Linked DNA regions of Homo sapiens: all the other regions are linked to region 2. Evidence: promoter capture Hi-C in 16 types of primary human blood cells and fetal thymus (Javierre and others, 2016). All regions are on one chromosome and are shown on one strand. The core of a region is centred on a gene start or on the middle of the fragment in contact, and the rest is flanking DNA. Distances in the headings are between cores, read along the strand shown. Region 1 overlaps FAM13A (family with sequence similarity 13 member A). Region 2 holds the start of PIGY (phosphatidylinositol glycan anchor biosynthesis class Y). Region 3 overlaps PKD2 (polycystin 2, transient receptor potential cation channel). Region 4 overlaps PKD2 (polycystin 2, transient receptor potential cation channel). Region 5 overlaps PPM1K (protein phosphatase, Mg2+/Mn2+ dependent 1K). Region 6 has its middle 51 kb from the start of PPM1K.

Region 1 (2,700 bases), core at 155-2,654, 480 kb before region 2:
GCAAATTATTCCATATAAGAACAACTCATCTTGAAACATGATTGTGTGCACATGTGTGCGTGCATATGTACATTTGTTAAAATCTTCCATCTACTGTCATGTTTTAGGCTATTCTCTTTATCCTTGAGGACTTATTCTTTTAAAAAAATTGTCATTTTAGTGGGATATTAGGAGGAGAAGTAGGTACACTCATCTTTAACTGAAATGATCTGTCATCTTTATCTGAAAGGTCTCCTCTGACTTTCTTTTCCCATGCTTAATTTTTTCCCATGCTTGATTTTGAAGTCAACAGAATTTCTTTATAACAGCTTTATTGGTATATAAATTACCCACCATAAATTGACCTTCTTAAAGTGTACAATTCAGTGGTTTTTGATCTATTCACAAAGTGCAACCATCACCATTATCTAACTTTCAAACATTTTTATGACCCCAGAAAGAAACCGTATGCCCATTAGCAGTCACTCCCCATTCCTCCCTCCTCCCACCACCCACATCCTTAGGCAAAGACCAGTCTACTTTCTTTCTATAAACATTTGCTTCTATGGACATTTCATAAATGGAATCACACAGTATGTGGTACTTTGTGACTGGCTTCTTTGATCTAGCATAATGTTTCAAGCTTTATCTGTGGTGTCACATATATCAGTACTGCATTCCTATGGCTGGTTAATATTCTATAGTATGAATATACGATATTTTACTTATCCATTCATGTTGATGGAAATTTGGGTTATTTCCATTTTTTGGCTGTTATGAACATTTATGTACAAGTTTTTGTGTGGATATATGCTTTCATTTCTCTTGAGTATCTACCTGTAATTGCTATGTTATATTGTAACTTTATTTTGAGTAACTATTTTCTAACATAGTTTTAGAAAGATTATAGGCTTGAAGAGGAAAAGCAGGATACCCAGCAGCTCCAAGGCCAAGAAGAGGCCCATTGGGGATATTATGGAATTAATTGTGAGCTGGGTGAAATCCTCAGTAAGTTCTTTGTTTTTTTAGTAATGCTTTTATGTTGGAAGAAGAAAAGACATAGTCAACAAGTGAGTTATTTAAAAAGTATACAACTTGTATTAACAGAAAATCAATCTACATAAAAAATATTAAAAATTTGGTTAAAGAATATCAGTTGAAGGGATAGCCAGATGATTAGCTTGCTAGCCACTTAGAGCTCTGCCCTAACTCTGTCAAGCCGTGTTTTGAACACCTGCTTTACTGAACCCATGGAAATAATCAACCTTTTACAATGAGTCCATAAACAATTTGAGGCCCTTAGGGGAGAAAGGAGGGGTAAGAGGACATACAAATAGGCTTAAGTAACTCTGGGCTTGGTTTAACTCATATGGCACCAAATCCACTTACAGGCCACTTATAGCTGAGCATTTAACCAGTAGTGCCTAGAAAAAAACCAACTGGTGGTAGTATGATTTCATCTGAAACTATATATTTACTGTACTTGGCCCATTTAATGTAGTGCTAGATTGATGGAGAAAGCCTAGTTTTATTAGCTGAGATACTGCCAATATTGTTTCAGATTAGCATTTTACATTGTGTGAGGCTCTCTGTCCTATATGCTGTTTGTTTTTTCCAGTCTCCTCGGTACATAAATTCTCATACAAATAAGTTCTTCAGCTGCTAAATGCTTGTGTCTAACCTTTATTGTAGATATGAGGTTCCAGCTTTATAATTTAGACTATTTTATATTTTTATGTACACCACCTGTCCCGACTGACAAGCATTCAGTACCCAATAAATACTCACAAAATAAATATGCTGAGATACTATTTAGGCATTATCAGGAGTTTGTTTTGGTTATAGGACTAAAGTGTAAAATATCACCTAATTCTTTGTTCTTCCTGCAGGCCTTTGCTCTTGGACATACAGGTTCTCTCTGGGAACAGGAGGATCACTGTAAATATTGACTAATTTGGCAATAAACATACCTCTGCATTTTGCAGAATCTAATCAGAATGATAAGATTCGTAGTTTCACTAATAACCTCTAAGAATAGAGGGTAATTTATTAATTTTTATTAGTCACTTTATCAGTCTGCCCTTTGAGAAATTTACGTGAGGCCTCTGAGAACCATATCATGGTCATGAGGTTGTAAGAGATTTGTAAGAAACATAATCCCTCCTTTTGCATAGGAAAATGAAATTCTGTTGCCTATATAAGCTTCTCATCACTCCAAAGAAGTGATTCCAGTCTTGGGGAATGAAATGCGGAGGTAAAACCCAGTCTGATTCTGTACAGCTGGCATTTCATAATTATTTTTCTCATTCTTCTGTAAATACATATTTAGAAAGAAATATAATTCATGTTTTGTTTATTCTTATGTAGTTTATATTTTGTGCCCATGCAGCCTTATAGGTTTCTATTAAAATTTTATTTCTCCACAAGCCCTGAGAATTTACGAAGCTATAGTTTCTCACAAATTAATTAAGATTCCCACCTCTCCACTACACAACAGATTTGTTTATTGATTGATTAATTCAGGAAACATTTCTTAAATATTTACATACATGAGACATGGTGTTAGCTGCTCTGTAATAATGATAACAATAATAGCTAACTTTGTAAGAGTATGCTGATCAAATTGTATGTTATGAGGTCCTGGGCACTTGGATTTAAATTGTAGCTCAGCTATTTGGTACCTGGGTGAATGTGGACAGGCTAATCAATCTCTCTATTTCA
Region 2 (2,700 bases), core at 90-2,589:
TTTTGGTATCCTATAAACTACATTAACCTTAGAAAATCTTCTGAGCATTAGTGAACAAAGAACATCAAAAAATAAACTGTTTTTTTTAAAAAAAACAGGATGGCCCAAAAAACAAACAAAAAATTAGGATGAACATATAAACATTTGTCAGTTTATTTTTACATTGGAGTGGAAGAGAAATTTGAAAATATAAACATATTTTTGGATTCTGTACTTCCAGCTCCAGGAACTCAAAGTGTGAAATGATAATGCCCAGTGATGCAAAAAAAAAGTTCAGGTTGATATTCAGCAGAACGGAGGGAAAAAATGGATGACTAATGAGAATCTTTGAGTCTTCGGACATGGAAAAACTAGATGAACTAAAAATAAAAATAGACAACATTAATGGAGCATTAATTTGTGCCAGGCACTTTTCTAAATGTTCTTCGAATGCACAATCACATTTATGCCCTACCTACAAGGTAGGTACAATTATTAGTCTTATACAGATAAGGAAAATGAGCAGTTAAGTCATTTGCCAAAGTCATCCAGCTACTAATTGTGGACAGGGAACCAAGCTGTCAGGCCCCAGAGCCCAAGTTCCCATCTACTACACTGTAAGAAAGAGATCTAACATGGTCACTTTCTTGGAGAGTGGGAAGCAAACCTGGGATACAAATTCACTGAATGGATCACCCACTCATTGAATGGATCTTTAACAGGCAGATCACATCTGCCTGTTACACAGCTATTTAGGCCCCTTGCGGCCTCCAAGCTCATTTATAGAAGTAAATTAGCTGTGCTTTATTACGCAAATACTTCACAATGACTGGGTCTCAGGCAGGAAGAATTTATATATTTTGGAGGGTCAGAGGCCTAGGCCCTTCCTTCCAGGTTCTCACTTTTTTTAATGAGAGAGAAAAAAGCCAAACAAGGTTACAGAAACTAATGGTATAGTAAAGATGTACATGAAACAAATGAGCGCTTTCAATACATCCATGACAATACATTCGGTACAATACATAACAGTGTGTTTGAAACTTCACTTGGAGGTAACCACGTAGGTCCAAGCCTAACTCCCTACAACTCTGAGGCCTGGCCACTGGCTTCCTAGCATCCTTGGACAGGCCCCGGTGAAAACCCAGACACCTTGACTTAAACACTGGTTTAGTTTGTAGTCTGGTAAGGCGGCGGGGCACTCACCAGAGGCCTCTGCCCTGGGGCTGTCCTCCGGACTATAGATGACGCCCGTGGGAAAAGCAGTCGGAGCAGAAGCACCCTCGGAACCAAAGCGCCCGCCCCGCCTACTCCTCGGCAGCGTTTCCTGGAGGACCAGGGGGCGGGGCCTGCCCGGCTGGCCTGGACGAACGGGAAGCCGGGAGCTCGGCCACGGGTGGCGAGGCTGCGGTGAGGCCTGGTCTCCGGCTGCCAGACCATGCTGAGTGGAGCACGCTGCAGGCTCGCCTCAGCGCTGCGGGGAACGCGCGCGCCGCCGTCCGCGGTCGCCCGTAGGTGCCTGCACGCGTCGGGGTCGCGGCCTTTGGCCGACCGGGGCAAGAAGACTGAGGAGCCGCCCCGCGACTTCGATCCGGCGCTGCTGGAGTTCCTGGTGTGCCCGCTCTCCAAGAAGCCGCTCAGGTAACTCGCTGGCCTTGGCCCTTCCTTTGCAGCCTCCCGGTGGGCGGAAAGGGAGCGGTGGACCGCGGCCTCTTGCAGCCACTGGGGCCTTGTAGGTCGGTCAGGTACTCTCCGCTGCCACATTCTGGACTCTGTCCTCGCCGGGCGCACAGCGGGCAGGACGGGGGAGACCGGAGGCCAGGGGAGCTGCGTCCCACATCTCCCAGAACGCAACGCCAGCCTGCGGGAATGGCTCGAAGCGTTTTAGGGTTCGCGACCGGCTGCGCATTGCAATCACCCGGGGACCGTTTTAAAAATGCCGATTCCCCGACAGCCCCCAAGACGGGCAGACTTGGAATGCTCGCGGGATGGGACCTGAACATTTGTATTTTCTTTTCCTTTTTTTTTTTCCTTTTAAGAGACAGGGTGCCCCCTACGTTGCCCAGACTGGCCTAGAACTCCCGCCTCAGCCTCCTCAGGAGTCGAGAGACAGGCGCCGCCCCCACGCCCAGCTTATCTGTGTTCTTAAACGGTCCCTAAATGATTTCTAATGTACCACCAGGTTTATGAACCACTGCGATTCAGGACAAGTCCGAAGCCTTCCGGTTTTTAAGCCAAGATAATGAAAAGTATTGTTGTACCCTCCAGATTCTTGTGAAAGTGTCTTGTACAACTGGTGCCTGACAATCTTAAGCAATTCAGCTGTGTTTGCTGCCCAGTGGCTCTTAGTTGTGGCCTAGCAGGTTTCGTAGAAGCCTCTTTAACTAGTTTTTGGGAAGACAGCTCTACAGTTTCCAAGCTACCAAAATTGAATATTGACAACACTAACGCTAGTATTACAAATCGCATAAACACCAAAATGTTATCAGTGGTTATCTTTGAATGGTAGATTGCTAGCAATTTTTCGTATTTCTTTTTCCCGTAATAAACATATTATTCAATTTTCTCGAACCTTGAAATTATCATTTGATTTACGTTTATAACTAGCTCACTGCAGACTTAGTGCTTTCGAAAGTTTCTTCATTTCTGCCCTCTCACCTTTTCCAGTGATTTCCTTCTAATGGATTAGTTAAGTTTCTCTACTTAGCATTTATTCTAAAATGA
Region 3 (2,700 bases), core at 46-2,545, 500 kb after region 2:
TATAAGAGATAGACTCTGGCTTCACTGCTAAGGACGAACTTTCTAACATAGCTGTAGAAAAATGAAATGAACGATTTCAAAGAAGTAAGTCCCTTAACCTGGGACTCTTGTTCAATCAGAGGCAGTATGAGTAACCATCTGAGACGGATGTTTTAAAGAGAATTTAGCATTCAGTGAGGTCAGACCATATGACTGCTAAGATACTTTCTTAAGTAGAGATTCTACAATATTCCAAAAACAAAATTTTTAAATATATAGCTACTCACATAAGAAATAAAATGTGATTTGCATGAAAAAGAACAAAAAGCGACAATATTCTCAAATAAACAAGAAAACCAATTCATTATGTGACTTTAGGCATATTTCCTAAAACTCTGTCTTCAGCTTACTTCTCTGACTTACCTTCCAAATTTATCACTACATCTGAAAACTCGTTTCTCTAGGCTACATTATGGAGGCTCTGTTAGTAGATCTCGGAAAACCACATATGTATTTTAAAATCAGAGTGATTCTAATGCTCAGTCAGTTTTGGGGACTGCTGAAATTCTAGACTTACGTACAGGGGTTACCTTCTATTTTGCATAAGAAATTTGTCTGTATATGTAAAGCTTGAAAAGAACTTAGTAATTCTAATCAACTTGTTAATATTTAAGGCCACTGCAGTTTAATGTTTAAGCATCATTTTAATGCAGGCAGCAAACTCAATCTCAAGTTTCTAAACTCTAACAATTTAAAACATAAAAATATCACATCCAGGCTGGGTGCAGTGGCTCATGCCTATAATCCCAGAACTTCCAAGGCAGGAGGATCACTTGAAGCTAGGAGCTGGAGACCAGTATAGGCAGCAAAGTGAGACCCCACCTCTACAAAAATGTTTTAAAAGTTAGCTGGGCATGGTGGTGTGCAGCTGTAGTCCCAGCTACGTGGGTGACTGAGGTGGGAGGATCACTGAAGCCTAGGAGCTCGAGGCTGCAGTGAGCTATGATTGTGCCACTGCACTCCGGCCTGTGAAACAGATCAAGACTCTGTCTCTAATTTAAAAAAAAAAAAAAAAAAGGAAACCTTTTCTCAGAGGAGTTTGGTAGGAGGCTCTGGGGTCATAAAACTGCTTCCTCATCTGTTCTCGTGAAGACTTTAGATGAGACATGACAGAAATCCATCATCGAACGCCCTTTGATTCAGAGGACAAATCCATCACCTGTGGCTTTCTGGACTTTGAGACAAATGGTTCCTACAGCTAGTCTCTCGCTCAGGCATCCCTCCCCTCCCCCTACCAGAGGATGGGAAGACGAACTGAAAGAAGGAAAGAAGACGAAAGAGATGGGCCTATAGCAAGTTTCTTGTGGAGTAAAAGTCCAGCAATTATTAAAGATTGAGAAGAAATAATGAATTAAAATGAGGCAATGACACAACATATCCAAATCCAAAAGAAGGGGATATTACATGTATACGCCAATAAAAGCAATATTAGTAGCATTATTTGTATTTCCTGAAAGTTAAATTTGGAAAGTCATTTTTCTGGAAACAATTCTTATGCAGACTTTATGTTAACTGATATAATAATAGTATGACAATAATGATGATACTGTAATAATGGTGATACTGTATTCATTGTTAAGGAATCTAATACAAAAATCCTCTAACTTGGTTTCTTGGTGTCTGGCAAGTTGCCACGCGTATCTCATAGTGAAAATCACCACCACTGACGATGAACTGGCTGGTCAGATAATGCTGATTTTTAATTAATGTTTACCAGAGTGCAGAAGAGAACTTGACCAAATTCTAAATTGGAATTGAACTCTTTGCCTCTCCCGTCCTGTGTTAAACGCAAGTCCACAGTCACTTAGCATTTGGTCACAATTTAGTCACAATTAGAAAAATTCTTTCTTATATATTTTTCAGAGCCTTCTGTTGCCATCTGCAGTTTTGGGAAATGGGGGTACAGCAGAGAACAAATCACGTCCCTTCTCTTATAAAGCTTGCATTCTACCATAGGAAGATAGTCAATAAACAAATGCCCAAATAAAAATATTAGAATTAAAAACAAAGGTAAGAAGGTAACTTCCCAGTTGCCCCTCTGGTGCATACACACTTCCTTTTAATTATGATTTGGATAGGTCAAATCTTTTCAAAACTTTCCCATTAGTGCAAGGAAATATTCTACTTACAGATGCACAAGACTATGAGAAAAAGGAGGTATGTGACCAGTTCCCGTAAAACACTTTTAAGGTATTTCTCTCGGTTAGTGCTGCTTTCCTCCATGAGTCTTGTTCCCCAGAGACCTTTAAAATAATAATGAAGAAAAGAAAAGATATCATTTTATTTAAGAAATCTCATGAATGGCAAAAGGGAAAATAAAGCACAAATTAAAAAGTTCACCTATAAGGGAGATTCTCCTTTTTTTTTTTTTAATCACATTTTGAATGCAACTGAGAAACTGGTTTTGTAGGCCTACCTTTTATTTAAGAGTACATCTGGCTCCAATGTTACCCCAAACATGCAAAACATAAGGCAACAATTCTGATCATTTTATAGGCTCCCAAGCCCATTAGCAATATCTTAGTCAAATTTTAAAAAGAGAACAGGAAATAAGGAAGGCCTAACAGAGGAGTTAAATAATTGTGCAAAACTTATCAGTTCTTCCTATTTGAGGTGGATACAACCTTGTAATTATCCTACTACTAAACCCAGTTAAGAACA
Region 4 (2,700 bases), core at 30-2,529, 460 kb after region 2:
TGTTTTGATTTTCACTTCCAGTGTTACCATTTTTCATTTCTTTGCTAGCCCATTCTCTTTTTCTTTTCTTTTCTTTTCTTTTTTTTTTTTGAGACGGAGTTTCGCTCTTGTTACCCAGGCTGGAGTGCAATGGCACGATCTCGGCTCACTGCAACCTCCGCCTCCTAGGTGCAAGCGATTCTCCTGCCTCAGCCTCCCCAGTAGCTGGGATTACAGGCATCTGTCGCCACACTCAGCTAATTTTGTATTTTTAGTAGAGATGGGGTTTCACCATGTTGGCCAGGCTGGTTTCGAACTCCTGACCTCAGGTGATCCATCCGCCTTGGCCTCCCAACATGCGTGAGCCACTGCACCCATTCTCTTTTTCAATTATCCATTTTTGTAAAATGTCACATGGGCTTATTACTGGAACACAAGGAAGCAACACTACATGCTTTCTTTGTTTGTGAATTGGATAGCAGATGCTCAGTGACCAATTAGTAACAGACTGAAAATAGTGTCATGACTGACCAGTGAGCCTGCTCAGCCTGCACATCTGTTACTCAGGTAACTGATCTATACACTGAAGAGCTAGCAGTGGAGTTTGTACTTTGTGCTGTTACTCAGAGTTAATATACTATGATAACTGAAATTTGAACTGTGTTGTTGAAGGTGGTGTTACATAACAAAACTGGGGTAACCAAAGTTTGTGTGTATCAGAATTGTGCCAAGTGAGGAGTGCTTGCATACACACTGGAGATTTGCTAAAATGTAAGCAACTGTTATGCGGAATCAAGATAATGTGAATCTTAGGTCCCATCCCAAGGACTTTGTTTTAAGAGGCTTAAGTTTTCTATTATAACATATATCACAGATAACATAATCCTAAGGCTTGGACTAATAAAAAAAAAAATTACAGTTAAGGAGCCACTATGACTTAGCAAAATGATGTTGGGAAACAAACTGTGTATTTTAAATGTGGTTATTTGTTGTTGTATACATTTTATACTTTAAACCAAATAAAGAAGTTACATTGAGAAGAACAAAGAGGCCCAACTTTCCTGTCCTGCCCTTCTATTTAACAATGAAACCCTTCCTGAGAAGGTGCATAAGTAAAAGTTCTCAGGCCCCAGGCTATGGCCTGAATTCATGAATCTTTTCCTTTGCTTATTTTAAAACTGCCGTGGAAGGTCAAGGGTAAAGGGTGAACTACTAAGTGTTTTCCTCTAAAACTTTTTATTTTTTTAAAATGGTAATTGAGACAGAAGAGGTGGAAATCCCTTTATATAATCTTCCCTTCTAGTTTATTCTCAACTCAGGATCCTGAAGTGAGAGCCAGCTACAGGAGATGTCAAAATAATGAAGGTGATGAACCTTCAGCTCAGCTCTTAAAGTGTCAAAAGATTGTTGAGAATTTAATTCCAGGGCATAAAAGGATTCCCAGAATTAAAATTCAAGATAGCAGTATATCCATCAAGACTCCAAGATAGGGAACATTTAAATTATTCCTGAAATATAGCAATGTATTCTTTATTTCAAACAATTTCAATGGATCAATGTTGATTTGAAAATCTGGGTGAAACAATGCTCATTTTATGTCAGAAACAGAAGAATTCTGAGAATTAAGGTTTTTCCTACCTTTCTGATAAGATCTGAGAGTTCCATTTCAGCTTTCTGCTGTGCCAAGTCAGATTTCACTTCAGAGTAAGTATCATTGATGATAGCCAAAAACATATTCTGTTTGTAAATGAAAGGAGGGCAAAAATTAAAGGAAGAAACATAATTTGGAATTATCAATCAAAAAAATGACACATGCCTTTTTGTTTATCCTTTTTTTCCTAATCTGAGTGCTTTATGAAGACATAAATTTATTATTTATTTATTTAAAAAAAAATTTTTTTTTTTGAGACAGAGTCTCACTGTGTTGCCCAGGCTGGAGTGCAGGGGCGCGACCTCAGCTTACTGCAACCTCTGCCTCCTGGGTTCAAGCAATTCTTGAGTCTCAGCCTCCTGAGTAGCTGGGATTACAGGCATGTGCCACTACACCTGGCTAACTGTTGTATTTTTAGTAGAGACAGTGTTTCACCACGTTGGCCAGGCTGGTCTCGAACTCCTGGCCTCAAGTGATCTGCCCGCCTCGGCTTCCCAAAGTGCTGGGATTGCAAGCGTGAGCCACTGTGCCCAGCCTGATGTAATAAATTAACAGTTTTGCTGCCACATGTTTTGGGAAGATTATTTTCTCCGTTAAGTCATGCCACAGGAAAAATTTTATGATATACTTTGTGAAAACATACAAGAATAAAATACAACAAAATATTAGTATATTTACCTACTAATGGTGCGATTATTTTATTTAATATTATTTTTGCTTATCTATGTTCTCTATATTTAGAAACTTTTACATACACTACTGAAGGGTATAGAATTCCAAAAAGCTCTTCAAATTTCAACAGTTAACACAGATAAGTAGAATTGTATGCTTATTCCAAGTTTTTTTGTATAATCATATATGAAATTTACAGGACACATTTTTAAAGAGTTTAAAAGGCTGTTGCAAATAGGAATACAGCAGGCCTACTAGGCAGATAGTAAAGAAAAAGTTTCTGGAAGAGAGATAGACTTTGGAGTCAAGCAAACTTGGATTTCAGTCCTAGCACTGCTAAGATTGTTGCTCCACTTTTCTAAGTCTAATTTTAAAGAATTATTTAATTGTTTTACATT
Region 5 (2,700 bases), core at 84-2,583, 260 kb after region 2:
TTCTGTAGTTAAGAATACTGTAAAAATGTGACTATTCCTTAATATCAGAAAAGAATGCACAGGCTGAGTCTTCCGGTCAAAAGTTAAATACTGATGGAATCAAGTATTTTGTATGAAGTTCTCATTTGTTATCTCTAACGCTATTTTGTGTTTTGCATATAGTATTATAGTATGTGTATATCACTTTTTGTATAGAGTAAGCAATTGAATAATTTGTTAATAAAAATAATACCACATTGACTGATACTGCTATAGACATAGCTTGAGTTTTATGTCTCCTTTTTGCTCATTTTCTAAGACTTAGGAGAAAGAATAAATCTAAAATGACCATTAAAACATTCTCCATTTCAGCTTGCTGTGTAACTTAGGAAGTATAAAACTATACTTCTCTTTATCTGCATGTAAGTTTGCTGTTAAAATGTGAATTTCTAAATGTGTATTTGGAATTATTTCCGTAGTTTATTTCTGCAAACTATGTAAATTTGTTATATGTGTGAGTATGTGTACATATGTATATTTTAGAGTAATATAAAATTAAAGGGAACAATCTTGCATAGCTCTTTCACCAGTTTTAAATTATTGATACGTTATTTTTAAGGACTCTTGACAAACTAGGGGCAATTTTCTTATAGTGGAGACCCAGTGATTATCAGCAGATGAGGAAATAGGTTAAAAATTGCTATATGGCAATTTGTATATAAAGTAATAGGATGTGAGAAAAATACTGAATCTTAAGAATGACATGGAATTCTGTGGCAGAAACAAAAGAAAAAGTTGATGTAGTATATACCTTCAACTGTGTTTTGAGTTGACTTTTTTTTTTTTCTTTAAGCTTTGGGTAAAAATGTATGAGGAGGGAGAGGGCCCAATATAAATATTTACATCTTCTTACCTTTTTGGAAATGGAAGAAGATAAATCTTGAGTTTTTCTGCCTATATTAATCAGGAATTGCCCTTTGAAAAAAGTGCTAAATAAATATTTTGATTTTTTTTTTCAAGGGAAGTTAGGTGAAAGAAGGAAAAACATCACAGGAAAGACTGTTAACATTCTGTTTGTTGTCTGAGAGGTGAGGAACCAAAGGGAGGCAACTAAAGCGGGAAACCATCTTGCTTTTTCTAATCAGTTCTTGGAACAGAAATGTGGAAGCTACCTTTAGGAACATGGAGAATTTCCAAACCAACAGGCAAAGGAAAACTAACGCACAAAAATGACATTCTGAAGATGCAGGTTTCAGCCAGGCGCGGTGGCTCAAGCCTGTAATCCTAGCACTTTGGGAGGCCAAGGCAGGTGGATCACCTGAGGTCAAGAGTTAGAGACCAGCCTGGCCAACATGGTGAAACCTCATCTTGACCAAAAAATGCAAAAATTAGCCAGGCGTGGTGGTGGGTGCCTGTAATCCCAGCTACTGGGGAGGCTGAGGAAGGAGAATTGCTTGAACCTGGGAGGCGGAGGTTGCAGTGAGTCGAGATCGCGCCATTGCACTCCAGCCTGGACAGCAGAGCAAAAACTCCATCTCAGATAAATAAATAAACAAATATGCAGGTTTCATTTTTGTTTTGAATGCTTTACATTACTATTCCTATCTTTTACTTTAAAAACTAAGATGAGGAGTGATGTTGTCAAGTTCAAAGGCATGAGGGTGATTGATGGATTGAGGTAGATAGCCAAGTTTGTCTGTTTTTGTTTTTTATAGTTACAGAGTCTCACTTTGTTGTCCAGGCTGAAGTGCAGTGGTGCAATCATAGCTCACTGAGATTGCCAGGTTCGACAAAGAGGAATTTATAGGATGGGGATATAGGGTAGACTTGACTCTGCTTTATCCGGGAAAGCTTTTAAAACTCTGAGCCAGTTAACTTTGAGTAAGCATAAAACATACTGTATTGGTGTTTGTATTTTTCATGCCACAATATTAAAATGGAATTTTAAATGTAGATTATTATAATCTATAAAAGATAAGTATGCATGTATTAGGATACTGGAAAATATGCAAATCATAGTAAAAAAAAAGGGACTGCTCTAGTTTTTCAGTTATAACTGAATTTGCCATGTGGGTATAGGCATAGTGTAAATTACATTAATGTAGTAAAACATCAATTGTGGTTCGGTTTGTCTTTCATTTATGTGTAGTATAGAAATCACCTTTCTAATATGTGTTGCCAAACTATTTGCCACCATCTATTTGGTGAAATATTCATTGTCATTGTGATTTTCCACAAGTATAAGTTCTTAAGTACTTTATAGATTCAGAAGTAAATGCTGTCCTGTTCTCCATCAGCTGTTCGTTTGTTACAGATTTTGTATTTCTTTTTTTTTTTTTTTGAGATGGAGTCTCACTCTGTCACACAGGCTGGAGTACAGTGGTGCGGTCTCGGCTCCCTGCAACCTCTGCCTCCCGGGTTCAAACGATTCTTCTGCCTCAGCCTCCTGAGTAGCTGGGACTACAGGCGCGTGCCACCACCCCTGGCTAATTTTTGTATTTTTTTTTCTTTTTTTTTTTTGAGAAGGAGTCTCTCTCTGTCACCCAGGCTGGAGTGCAGTGGCACGATCTCGGCTCACTGCAAGCTGCGCCTCCTGGGTTCACGCCATTCTCCTGCCTCAGCCTCCCGAGTAGCTGGAATTACAGGCGTCCGCCACCGTGCCCGGCTAATTTTTTTGTATTTTTAGTAGAGATGGGGTTTTGCCATATTGGCCAGGCTGGT
Region 6 (2,700 bases), core at 193-2,692, 290 kb after region 2:
CATCATGATACTGGCATAAAAACAGAAAAACAGACACATAGACCAGTGGAACAGAATAGAGAACCCAGAAACAAATCCATACACCTATGGTGCACTCATTTTTGATAAAGGTGCCAAGAAGATACAGAGGGTAATGGACAGTCTCTTCAATAAATGGTGTGGGGAAAACTGGATATCTGTATGCAGAAGAATGAAACTAGACCCCTATCTCTTACCATATACAAAAATCAAATCAAAATGGATTAAAGACCTCAAACTATGAATCTATCTAAAGAAAACTTTGAGGAAACTCTCCAGGACATTGGACTGGGCAAAGATTTCTTGAATAATACCCCAGAAGCACAGGCAACCAAAGCAAAAATGGACAGATGGGACCATATCAAATTTAAAAGCTTCTGTACAGCAAAGGAAACAATCCACAAAGTGAAGAGACGACCCACAGAATGGGAGAAAATATCTGTAAACTCTCCATTTGACATGGAATAAATAACCAGAATATACAAGGAGCTCAAACAACTCTATAGGAAAAATATCTAATAGCCTAAGTATAAAATGGGTGAAAGATTTGAATAGACATTTCTCAAAAGAAGATGTACAAATGGCAAACAGGTATATGAAAAGGCTCTCAATATCACTGATCATCAGAGAAATGCAAATCAAAACTACAATGAGATATCATCTCACCCCAGTTAAACTGGCTTTTATCTAAAAGACAGTCAATAATAAATGCTGGTGAGGATAGAGAAAAGAAAGCCCTCATACACTGTTGGTGGGAACATAAATTAGTACATCCACTATGGAGAACAGTTTGGAGGTTTTTCAAAAAACTAAAAGTAGAGATACCATATGATCCAGCAATCCCACTCCTAGGTATAAATCTAAAAGAAAAGAAATCCGTATATTGAAGAGATATCTGCATTGCTATGTTTGTTGCAGCTGTATTCACAATAGCCAATATTTGGAAGCAACCCAAGTATCCATCAACAGACAAATGGATAAAGAAAATGTGGTACATATACACAGTGGAGTGCTATTTAGCCATGAAAAAGAATGGGATCTGGCCAGGTGCAGTGGCTCATGCCTGTAATCCCAGCACTTTGGGGGCCGATGTGGGCAGATCACGAATTCAGGAGATTGAGACCATCCTGGCTAACGCAGTGAAACCCCGTCTCTACTAAAAATACCCACATGGTGGCGGGTGCCTGTAGTCCCAGCTACTTGGGAGGCTGAGGCAGGAGAATGGCATGAACTCGGAAGGTGGAGCTTGCAGTGAGCTGAGCTTGCACCACTGCACTCCAGCCTGGGTGACAGAGCGAGACTGTCTCAAAAAAAAGAAGAATGAGATCCTATCATTTGCAACAATACAGATGGAACTGAAGGTAATTATGTTAAGTGAAACAAGCCAAGCACAGAGACACAAACGTAACATGTTCTTACTTATTTGTGGGAGCTAAAAATTAAAACAATTGAACTCATAGAGATAGAGAGTGGAAGAATGGTTACCAGAGGCTGGGAAAAGTATTGGGGAGGTGGGGGGAAGTGGGATGGTTCATGGGTACAAAAAATAATTAGAAAAAATAATTAAGACCTAGTATTTGCTAGCACGACAATGTGACTGTAGTCAAAAATAATTTAATTGTCCACTTAAAAATAACAAAAACACATTAGTCACATGTGGTGGCACACACCTGTAATCCCAGCTACTTGGGAGGCTGAGGCAGGAGGATTGCTTGAACCCTGGAGGTGGAGGTTGCAGTGAGCTGAGATCATACTGCTGCACTCCAGCCTGGGCATTAGAGTGAGACCCCATCTCAAAAAAAATAAATAAATAAATAAATAAAATGAAAAAAGTATAATTGGATTGCTTATAATACAAAGGATAAATGTTTGAGGTGGTGGATACCCCATTTACCCTGATGAGATTACCACACATTGTGTGCCTGTATGAAAATATCTCATGTACCCCATAAATATATACACCTACTATGTACCTACAAGAAATAAAAATTTAAAATTAAACAGAAAAAAAAAATCCCTGACGGAGTTATTGCTTAATGATTACAGAGTATCTGTTTGGGGTGACAAAAAAGTCTTAGAAACAGTGACGGTGACACAACATTGTGAATGTAATTAATGCTACTGACTTGAACTCTTAAAATGTTTCAAATGGCTAATTTTATGTTATACATATTTTACCATATTAAAATAAATTTATAAAAATAGATAAATGGAATTTCTTAACAACTTCAAGATTTTTTAAACGTTCATTTCATTTCAATAAATATTTACAAAATGCCTAATTTGTCCTAGGTACTGCACAACACAGTGAATAATCAGGATAGTGACTTAAATATAAACAGAACTTAACAGCAAGACAAATTCAGTAATCGGTATTTTGTGAATCTCATGAAATTTATCATGACAACTCTGTAAGGAAGGTATTATTGTTATCACTATTTTATTGTTGGGGAAGGCTTGGCTTAAGAAGCTTTTCAAGGCCAGTAAACAGTGGAATTAGAAGCACTTAGTAAATGTCATATTTTTTCTTTTGACATCTATCATGTTTTCAGAATATGAAATGCCTATTTAACTCCAGCCTGGGTGACAAAGTGAGATCTTGCCTAAGAAAAAAAAAAAAAAAAGCCAGGTTTGGTGGTTCATGCCTGTGATCCCAACACTTTGGGAGGCTGAGGTGGGAGG

What was found. Contacts are between HindIII fragments. The CHiCAGO score rates a contact against its expected background, and 5 or more counts as called.
Region 1: a fragment that was not itself captured here is called in contact with the fragment with the promoter of PIGY in region 2 in 2 of 17 cell types (naive B cells and total B cells); the score reaches 5.8 in naive B cells.
Region 3: a fragment that was not itself captured here is called in contact with the fragment with the promoter of PIGY in region 2 in 8 of 17 cell types (monocytes, naive CD8 T cells, megakaryocytes and 5 more); the score reaches 8.5 in monocytes.
Region 4: a fragment that was not itself captured here is called in contact with the fragment with the promoter of PIGY in region 2 in 2 of 17 cell types (megakaryocytes and monocytes); the score reaches 5.6 in megakaryocytes.
Region 5: a fragment that was not itself captured here is called in contact with the fragment with the promoter of PIGY in region 2 in 8 of 17 cell types (naive CD4 T cells, total CD8 T cells, non-activated CD4 T cells and 5 more); the score reaches 7.8 in naive CD4 T cells.
Region 6: a contact is called between a fragment that was not itself captured here and the fragment with the promoter of PIGY in region 2, in 14 of 17 cell types (naive CD8 T cells, activated CD4 T cells, total CD4 T cells and 11 more). The highest score is 13.5, in naive CD8 T cells.

The regions. Positions count from the first base shown.
Region 1 is chr4:88,998,307-89,001,006 of GRCh38, reverse strand. The region is part of intron 3 of FAM13A (family with sequence similarity 13 member A); the gene reads left to right. Among named protein-coding and RNA genes, the nearest start is that of FAM13A, 58 kb to the left of the region's middle. The HindIII fragment of the contact is 1,559 bases long and covers 625-2,183 here.
Region 2 is chr4:88,522,415-88,525,114 of GRCh38, reverse strand. PIGY (phosphatidylinositol glycan anchor biosynthesis class Y) reads left to right here and starts at 1,339. Exons shown (of 2, transcript NM_001042616.3): 1 at 1,339-1,617. It overlaps PYURF (PIGY upstream open reading frame), which reads left to right and starts at 1,339. Exons shown (of 2, transcript NM_032906.5): 1 at 1,339-1,617. The coding sequence starts at 1,415. It overlaps PIGY-DT (PIGY divergent transcript), which reads right to left and starts at 1,305. Exons shown (of 2, transcript NR_134663.1): 1 at 1,183-1,305; 2 at 124-350. It also overlaps a transcript of HERC3 not described here. RefSeq lists an enhancer at 1,982-2,041. The HindIII fragment of the contact is 19,176 bases long and covers 1-2,700 here.
Region 3 is chr4:88,019,040-88,021,739 of GRCh38, reverse strand. PKD2 (polycystin 2, transient receptor potential cation channel) reads right to left here. Exons shown (of 15, transcript NM_000297.4): 2 at 2,169-2,282. Among named protein-coding and RNA genes, the nearest start is that of PKD2, 13 kb to the right of the region's middle. The HindIII fragment of the contact is 1,370 bases long and covers 611-1,980 here.
Region 4 is chr4:88,060,922-88,063,621 of GRCh38, reverse strand. PKD2 (polycystin 2, transient receptor potential cation channel) reads right to left here. Exons shown (of 15, transcript NM_000297.4): 10 at 1,618-1,716. Among named protein-coding and RNA genes, the nearest start is that of PKD2, 55 kb to the right of the region's middle. The HindIII fragment of the contact is 6,084 bases long and covers 1-2,700 here.
Region 5 is chr4:88,258,886-88,261,585 of GRCh38, reverse strand. PPM1K (protein phosphatase, Mg2+/Mn2+ dependent 1K) reads left to right here. Exons shown (of 7, transcript NM_152542.5): 7 at 1-2,700. Among named protein-coding and RNA genes, the nearest start is that of PPM1K, 24 kb to the left of the region's middle. The HindIII fragment of the contact is 998 bases long and covers 835-1,832 here.
Region 6 is chr4:88,231,995-88,234,694 of GRCh38, reverse strand. No RefSeq gene overlaps it. Among named protein-coding and RNA genes, the nearest start is that of PPM1K, 51 kb to the left of the region's middle. The HindIII fragment of the contact is 2,096 bases long and covers 395-2,490 here.